3 separate regions of the Homo sapiens genome follow, and regions 1 and 3 are each linked to region 2. Evidence: promoter capture Hi-C in 16 types of primary human blood cells and fetal thymus (Javierre and others, 2016). All regions are on one chromosome and are shown on one strand. The core of a region is centred on a gene start or on the middle of the fragment in contact, and the rest is flanking DNA. Distances in the headings are between cores, read along the strand shown. Region 1 has its middle 8.8 kb from the start of BAHD1. Region 2 holds the start of BMF (Bcl2 modifying factor). Region 3 overlaps GPR176 (G protein-coupled receptor 176).

The links. Contacts are between HindIII fragments. The CHiCAGO score rates a contact against its expected background, and 5 or more counts as called.
Region 1: a fragment that was not itself captured here is called in contact with the fragment with the promoter of BMF in region 2 in 1 of 17 cell types (naive B cells); the score reaches 6.3 in naive B cells.
Region 3: a contact is called between a fragment that was not itself captured here and the fragment with the promoter of BMF in region 2, in 3 of 17 cell types (erythroblasts, naive B cells and total B cells). The highest score is 6.0, in erythroblasts.

What each region holds. Positions count from the first base shown.
Region 1 is chr15:40,430,737-40,433,480 of GRCh38, reverse strand. It overlaps a transcript of IVD not described here. Among named protein-coding and RNA genes, the nearest start is that of BAHD1, 8.8 kb to the left of the region's middle. The HindIII fragment of the contact is 2,091 bases long and covers 344-2,434 here.
Region 2 is chr15:40,107,586-40,110,386 of GRCh38, reverse strand. BMF (Bcl2 modifying factor) reads left to right here and starts at 1,508. Exons shown (of 5, transcript NM_001003940.2): 1 at 1,508-1,614; 2 at 2,001-2,128. RefSeq lists a silencer at 1,451-1,700 and an enhancer at 2,210-2,801. The HindIII fragment of the contact is 6,207 bases long and covers 1-2,801 here.
Region 3 is chr15:39,799,826-39,802,813 of GRCh38, reverse strand. GPR176 (G protein-coupled receptor 176) reads left to right here. Exons shown (of 3, transcript NM_007223.3): 3 at 560-2,988. The coding sequence ends at 1,682. Among named protein-coding and RNA genes, the nearest start is that of FSIP1, 18 kb to the right of the region's middle. The HindIII fragment of the contact is 2,359 bases long and covers 134-2,492 here.

The DNA.
Region 1 (2,744 bases), core at 140-2,639, 320 kb before region 2:
TATTCCAGACGTACAGACCCCTGGGAAGATGAAGAAATCCAGATCTGGAATGGGCAGTGTATTGAGAGCCTCCAAAGCCGGCAGGAGGTCCAGAGGGGGCAGGTGTCTCTTACAGAAGGCATGAACAGGCACTCAACATACGTTTCTTTATTTAACCCTCAAGAACTCTGGTAGGTAAATGTACTCTCAAATTTACAAACAAATGAGGAAACTGAGACCTGGAGAATCTAAGTAACTGCCCAAGATCACATAGGCTTGGAGTGGCTCCAAAACCTTTGCTTTTTTTTTCATACGGCATTTAACATATAAAATAGAGGTCTAACCCTTTATATGTCTAAAAGCTTTCTTCTTTCTACATTTCACATAGCGTAGTGGTTAAGAATGCAGACTTTCTGAGTACAGTCCTGGCGCTACAGTGTCTTAAAACATATAAAGTACTTAGAATAGTACCTGATGTAGCCACAAGTGCCCCCAGAACATTAGCAATTGTGAATCTATTTCATCATGCCCAAATCTGGCCATGCCTGAAGCCTGCCCTGCTTCCATACTGGAATCAGTCTTCCACCTCTGTTTTGTACTCCTTGTCTCCCATCTGGAGCTCTGACAATGTAGTGCCTGTGGCTGTATTCTGTCCACCCAGCAGTGGGCCCCACTCTGGCTTCAGTCAGGCAGGATGGCTCCCTTTGCTGGGTTTGGAGGAGAGGCCAGCCCCTCTTCCCATGGCTTCTCCATTCCATCCTCCCAAGGCCAGGGCCCTAGCCATTTCCCTCTTCGGGAAAGATTCTCTGTGGCATCCCTAAGCACATTCCTCAAGGTGAGGTAGTTCCATCTCCTACAGGCTCTCAGCCACAGCCACTGACCTCTCTAGTCTTGCAAAACCCAGAGCAGAGGAGAGAATCACCTGTGGTTCTTTTGCCATCTTCACTTAACCTCAGTGAACCCACAGCAAGAGCCAGGACCAGCCCTTTCCAGCAGACACCCTCTGGGGGGACTACAGTCTGGGCCACAAGTATGGTGTTAACCAACCATGGTGCCACCTGTGCTCTGCACTGTGCAGGCACCAAGAAGACTTGGGAGGCCATGCAGACAGCATTGCTTCTGACCTAGGAAAGCTACTCCACCCAGCAGAGGCGTGATCCTCAGAAACTGAAGAGCACATCAAAGAGTGTATGACCTAAGCAAGACTGGGCCAGATGATTAGTAACTGGAAAAGTGACATCAAGACTTAGATATGATAGGCCAGGCGCAGTGGCTCACACCTGTAATTCCAGCACTTTGGGGGGCCGAGGTGGGCGGATCACTTGAGGCCAGGAGTTCAAGACCAGTCTGGCCAATGTGGCAAAACCCTGTCTCTACAGGTGTGGTGACACGCATCTGTAGTTCCAGCTACTCAGGAGGCTGAGGCATAAGAATCGCTTGAACCTGGGGGGTGGAGATTGCAGTGAGCCAAGATGGAACTATTGCACTCCAACCTGGGTGATGGAGTGAGAATCTATCTCAAAAAAAAAAAAAAAAGACTTAGATATGAGAGGCCTGACAATTTTTCCCCTTGATTTGTGAATATTATACTATATTTAAAAATCTAATAAGGGCATTTATAAAAATTACACTTAGTTATATAGACAACAACTCTTCTTTGTTGAAAGGGATTATGGGAAATCAGCAATTGCCTTTTTCATTGCTTCCCTCTGTCAGGGTGTATTCTGTGATAGGTAATGTTCCTGGAGAGATTCCATGAGTTAGGCACTGTGTTAAGCTCTTTACACATAATCTTTTTTTTTTTTTTGAGATGGAGTCTTGCTCTGTAGCCCAGGCTGGAGTGCAGTGGCGTGATCTCAGCTCACTGCAAGCTCTGCCTTCCAAGTTCACACCATTCTCCTGCCTCAGCCTCCCGAGTAGCTGGGACTACAGGCGCCCGCCACTGTGCCCAGCTAATTTTTTGTATTTTTAGTAGAGACGGGGTTTCACCATGTTAGCCAGGCTGGTCTCGGTCTCCTGACCTCGTGATCTGCCTGCCTCGGCCTCCCAAAGTGCTGGGATTACAGGCGTGAGCCACTGCGCCCGGCCTACACATACTCTTAATCCCCAGCCAGTCTTATGAAATAGATAGTGTTATTATTCTCATTTTACTAATGAGAAAACTGAGGCATAGAGAGGTTCGGTAACTTCCCAGGGTCACATTAATAATAGTGGAGCCGGCTGGGCACGGTGGCTCACACCTGTAATCCCAGGTCTCAGGGAGGCAGAGGTGGGAGGATAGCTTGAGCCCAGGAGTTCGAGACCTGTCTGGGCAATAAAGCGAGACCCCGTTCTCCACAAAAAGGAAGAAAAAAAAAGACAAAAAAAAAAAAAGCGTAATAATAGTGGAGCCAGGGTTTACATCCCAGCCTTGTCACTTTTAATGATTTCTCCATCACTTCTTCCTAAATAAGCTTCCCCAAACAATTCTCTACTCTTATGTTTTCCAAATGTCTGTTAGCAACTCATTCAAATTTTACACATGAAGTTGCTGTGAGCAACATTCATCTCACTGTTAGATTGGGGGCAAAATGTTGCAAGTCGATTGTCATATTTCTTTATAAAAAGATATTCCTTTGGCAAAGCCGTTATCAAAAGTACCCTTTCCCTGCCTTCTGCACTCTCTTTGACACTGAAACATCAATATGGTCTTTCAAGAACATCAGATACACTTCAGCCAACTTCCAACTACAAGCAAACTCAGTGTTCTCCCAATGTTTCCACTG
Region 2 (2,801 bases), core at 259-2,758:
TCCCCTTTATAAAATACAGATTCTTCAGTCTGGCATTCCAGGGACACCTCTGTAGTCTGACCTGAACCCACCTGCCCATGCCTACCGTTCGTAAATCTCAGTGTGCACCCAATGATCCAGTCACCAAGCCTCCCTCTGCTCCCTGCACAGGTAAGCTCTCCAGCTCAGCACTTCAGTCTGCTACCCTTAGGCCTGGGCTATTCTTTTTTATTTTATTTTATTTTTATTTTTTTGAGACGGAGTCTCATTGTCGCCCAGGCTGGAGTGCGGTGGCGCTATCTCCGCCCACTGCAACCTTCACCTCCTAGGTTCAAGCAATTCTCCTACCTCAGCCTCCCAAGTAGCTGGGATTACAGGCATGCGCCACCACGCCCGCCTGATTTTTGTATTTTTAGTAGAGACAGGGTTTCCCGTGTTGGCCAGGCTGGTCTCCAACCACTGAGCTCAAGTGAACCACCCGCCTCGGCCTCCCAAAGTGTTGGGATTACAGGCGTGAGACATGTGCATCTGGTTTTCCTTATTGAAAAATATTTCCCATTCAATTTAAAAGCTGTCTCCCTGAGGCCTTCTCCAGCCTTTGTATTCTGAATTTTTCTGCATTCCTCAATAGTCATTATCCTTGGAATGAATACAATTCCAATAACTTTTCACTATTTTCAGGGCTACCTCTCCTAGTAGACTGTAAGCTCCTTGAGGGCAGACGCCAGGTTTCTGGCACTCAGCCCAATATCTGGCACAGAGTAGGTGCTCGGTAAATGCCTGTGAAGTAGCCCATAGACTCCCTTACGCGGTCTGCAGGACATGCTGCTCTCCTGGCAGCACCAGCACAGTCTCTAAATGCTGCCATATGCGAGATATGTGTCAACCGCTCAAGCAGCCCCGGCCTTCTTGAGCGCTCCGCTTCTCAGCCAGGTGCTTATTTTGCCAGTGCCCACGCCCAGTCAAGAAGAGGACCTAAGGGCTCCCCTGGATGTGTTTGTTTCAAACACACCTTCAGCTTTGGAGCTGCAGTTTTCTTCCGACCTGCTCGGCAGGCGGGAGGGAGCTTTCCCCTGAGGCTGGGATCCCATAGGGACCCGCACCCTGCACCCTGCACCCACTGGACGCACCAGCCTCATAAAAAAACTCCCCGCCTCCTTCCCCCCTCCCTTTGTGGACGCGCAGCAATTATTCTGCCCATTGCCGTGAAAAAGAAGACAAAAGTTACTTTGGCGCCCCCTCTCCCACACCTAATACAGAGGATTCAGGGACTCTCTGGCGCTTCCAGAGCCTGTGTTAGGGACAGAATCCGCACTGGCGACGGCGCTCCGACTGCGCTTCTGGCGACGGTCGGAATTTTGCTCGGCCCCTTGCAATGTTTCCATGGGAAGGTTCGTACATTCGTGACCGTCCCTGGCAGCGGCCCAGCCCGGGACTTGGCGCTTCACTCGCCATTGGTCAGTCCTCGGCGTGACGCGCAGGGGGGCGGGGCCTCATCAGCTGTTTGCGGGATGCCCCGAGCAGGCGTATTTTGGAAACAATACCGCACCGTGCGGAGTGGCCTCCTCCCGCCCCGGCCTGTGCCCGCCGCCGCCGCCGCCCCTGCCTGCGCCTCCCGCCTCCTGCCGCAGCCCGGTGAGCGCCCGGGTGGCCGCCGGGGGCCGGGCGGAGTTGGATCGCAGCTCCTTGGGGAAGTGGGGAGCGGAGTCGCGCTGCGCACGGGGGCCCGGGAAGGGTTTGGGCTGCGGACGTCTGGGGTGACCATGAAGAACTGGGGCGCTGGGGTGAGGGAACGGGGTGCAGAACCCACAGTTGGGTGCGCTGCTCCAAGAGGGAACTTGGGGGTAGCATTTGGGACTCGAAGGAGTTGGGTCCAGGTAGGCAGGGGAACCTGGGGTGCACTGCTGAGCAGACCTGGGCGCCCGAGAACGGCCCAGCCTCTGGGTCTGACTTTGGGATAGGACAGGAGCTGTGGGGCATCCTGCCTCTCTGCGGAGTCTGAAGGCTCCTCTCCTTAACAGCTGGGCTTTTTCCCTCCTTCCCAATCGAGTCTGGGCGTCCAGCCCCCGAGTGCTCGTCACGCTGGACCCTGGCGCGGAGCCCTGGCATCACGACTCGGAGGCCGAGACTCTCTCCTGGAGTCACCCAGGTCTGGGGTGTGTGTGTGTGTGTGTGTGTGTGTGTGTGTTCCTAGTCACTGTCGAGGATCTGGGTGTCTGACTACTGCCTTCTCCTAAGAGGAGGAGGAGTCTAAGTTCAGCATCCCTCTTCCAGCCCTTAGGGGTTGGGATGGCTGCAGCGGGGCTTGAGTTCCTTTGCTAGGAATAAAGCATTCCCTGGCCCTGTTCTCAGGAAGTGCCCTCCTCCTCCCACCGCTCTGGACATCACCTCTTAAGCTCAGGAGAAAAATTTCACCCTCTCTTAGTTTACCCTTGACCTTGGCCAGCACCCCTCCAGAGGCGCCCACCTACAGGCAAGCCACCTACAGTTTGTGGAGCGTGAGAGGGGTCCCTGGGGCTTGCAGAGCCACACCTTCTGGCTGCACCTCCCCCACTGTCCAGTCCAGGCAAAGGTTGAACTTTGGGGCTTTGCTGGGAGGGGGAGGGGAAGGTGATAGGCTTCAAAGGAAAAACCAAGACAATGACTCGTGCTGGTGATTGGCTTTGAGGGCCCCTTCTTAGGTCAAGATTGCTAGCCTGAGAAGAGGAGGTTGGAGAGCTGGAGGGGAGCCCCTGCCAGGTGACTGGCGGGACAGCACTTGGTCCTTTCATCAGGAAATTTTGTTTCCTGTTGTTAATAAGCTGGAGTGCACCACCTCACCC
Region 3 (2,988 bases), core at 64-2,563, 310 kb after region 2:
TTCTTCATACTGGTTCTTCTGCCCTGAACAACTTTAATTGTTAATGATATCTGGACTGTGGCATAAGTCTGCTTTAGATATGTGTGTAGACAAACTTATTTCTGTTGGTAGCTTTGAAAATTGCCCTAAAGCTTCTTTAGCCCATATAAAATTGTTTACCAATTACCCTTTACCCTCAAATTGAAAAGTAGATATCTTTATAGCAGATGGAGAAATCTTTTATATGGAGGGTACTGTTTGCGATTTCATCCTGGTAGCAATAATTATAAAGCTAGCTATGAATTGAAATTATTTACTTGTTTTCCTGTAAAGCCTCATGAGGACAGGTTTGCTGCTCCTTTGGAAAGGTTTTTATTTTTTGGTCTAGTGACGCTTCTTATTGTACTTGCAAAGTCCTCAAAACTTAGGTCTGGCTTCCTGGATTCCCCCAGTGCTTTTCTGTCTTAGGCCGAATAGAAGAACTTGACCTTTCTTCCCTCTCATCTACTTTTGGTGATTTAGGTTCCCCTAATTTAAAAAGTATCTTCTGTGGAATTAATTTTGTTTGTGTATCTTGCAGGTACTACTCAGTCCTCTATCCACTGGAGAGGAAAATATCTGATGCCAAGTCCCGTGAACTGGTGATGTACATCTGGGCCCATGCAGTGGTGGCCAGTGTCCCTGTGTTTGCAGTAACCAATGTGGCTGACATCTATGCCACGTCCACCTGCACGGAAGTCTGGAGCAACTCCTTGGGCCACCTGGTGTACGTTCTGGTGTATAACATCACCACGGTCATTGTGCCTGTGGTGGTGGTGTTCCTCTTCTTGATACTGATCCGACGGGCCCTGAGTGCCAGCCAGAAGAAGAAGGTCATCATAGCAGCGCTCCGGACCCCACAGAACACCATCTCTATTCCCTATGCCTCCCAGCGGGAGGCCGAGCTGCACGCCACCCTGCTCTCCATGGTGATGGTCTTCATCTTGTGTAGCGTGCCCTATGCCACCCTGGTCGTCTACCAGACTGTGCTCAATGTCCCTGACACTTCCGTCTTCTTGCTGCTCACTGCTGTTTGGCTGCCCAAAGTCTCCCTGCTGGCAAACCCTGTTCTCTTTCTTACTGTGAACAAATCTGTCCGCAAGTGCTTGATAGGGACCCTGGTGCAACTACACCACCGGTACAGTCGCCGTAATGTGGTCAGTACAGGGAGTGGCATGGCTGAGGCCAGCCTGGAACCCAGCATACGCTCGGGTAGCCAGCTCCTGGAGATGTTCCACATTGGGCAGCAGCAGATCTTTAAGCCCACAGAGGATGAGGAAGAGAGTGAGGCCAAGTACATTGGCTCAGCTGACTTCCAGGCCAAGGAGATATTTAGCACCTGCCTGGAGGGAGAGCAGGGGCCACAGTTTGCGCCCTCTGCCCCACCCCTGAGCACAGTGGACTCTGTATCCCAGGTGGCACCGGCAGCCCCTGTGGAACCTGAAACATTCCCTGATAAGTATTCCCTGCAGTTTGGCTTTGGGCCTTTTGAGTTGCCTCCTCAGTGGCTCTCAGAGACCCGAAACAGCAAGAAGCGGCTGCTTCCCCCCTTGGGCAACACCCCAGAAGAGCTGATCCAGACAAAGGTGCCCAAGGTAGGCAGGGTGGAGCGGAAGATGAGCAGAAACAATAAAGTGAGCATTTTTCCAAAGGTGGATTCCTAGCAAGGATTGTAAATTCTTGGAAGCAACGGGGAGCTTCCATATTCCCACCAGAGTGTGGGAATGCTGTGGCCATGTGATTGTATGATCTCCTTGCAACTCAGTGTGAGTTGATTCCTCCAATATGGGCCAGATGCTTTTGAATGATAGGGAAATCTACATAAAATCCAGTGTCCTCTTTATTGAGGGAGTATATGTATCCATCTCAGTGATCCATGTCCTTAGTGAAGTCCACATTATTCTCTGTGGGGACAAGAGCTGGGCAGTTTTGAATGGGTCTTGAGGTGGGTACCCCATGTGCACTTTCTGAGGATGCCTCACTTCCCTGGGCTCTGCAGAGAACACACAGAGAGAAGACTTTCAGAGCTCACAGGAGCAGGGAGCAGGAGCACTCTAAGGGAATTCCAAGATCATGATGGAGCATGGTGGCTCCAGAGAAAATGCCTGTTTGATGAACTTAAACATGTCAAACATTTTCTGTTGAGAAGGTAGGGATTTGGTGTCTTACACTGTTTCTCTGGAAGCCCCAGTCATATGACTCACTGTTTCTCCTGATACCCTTCGTCCCTTTCATTGGGATGTAGGTAAGGAATGACGATTCCTCACCTATGGTACACATGGCGATAGATGTGCCCGGGAGTAAGGGAGATATTTTGTCCTTGATAATTCTGATTTTCCCTTGGCATCACCAACGCCTCAGAGAGATACACCTGCACCCTCCAGTCAGGGTCAGTGTTGGCTGGAAAACACTGAAAAGTCTTCGCTCTGTCTTTCACCTTAAATTGTGTTTTCTCAACAAATGAGAGAGAAGCTTACGGGGGAGATGCCTGAGAGATGCCTATGGCGCTGTAGTTTTTTTTTCTTCCCTATGATCTCACATGAAAGGTGCTATGTAACAACCAGTATGAGTCAAATATATTGAAAAAATCATCTTATGCAAACTTTAGGAATTAAAAGGTATTTTTAAAATGGAGAGTTAGTGTAAGCTGGGTCCTTTGGAAACATCAAACTGAAAAGGCCTGATTTGGAAAGGTGACTCTGCCCAAAAGGTTGGCAAGAATCTGACAAAGATGGTTTCCTTCCGAGGAAGACTCCGGAACTCAGGTGTGGCCAGTCTCCTTTTCAGTCTGTTTGTACAGCTGCGGTTCTCTCTTAATTTTGGACACAGAGGAGGAACAGAACAGGGAGAAATAATCATTGTAGAGTGCCAAGGCAACATCTGACCCAGATGAGCTCTTCACTTCCTCCTTCCCTGTCGTTGTAGAGCCAGACTGGGTAGAAGAGGGAGGGCAGTGTCCTCAACTCATCA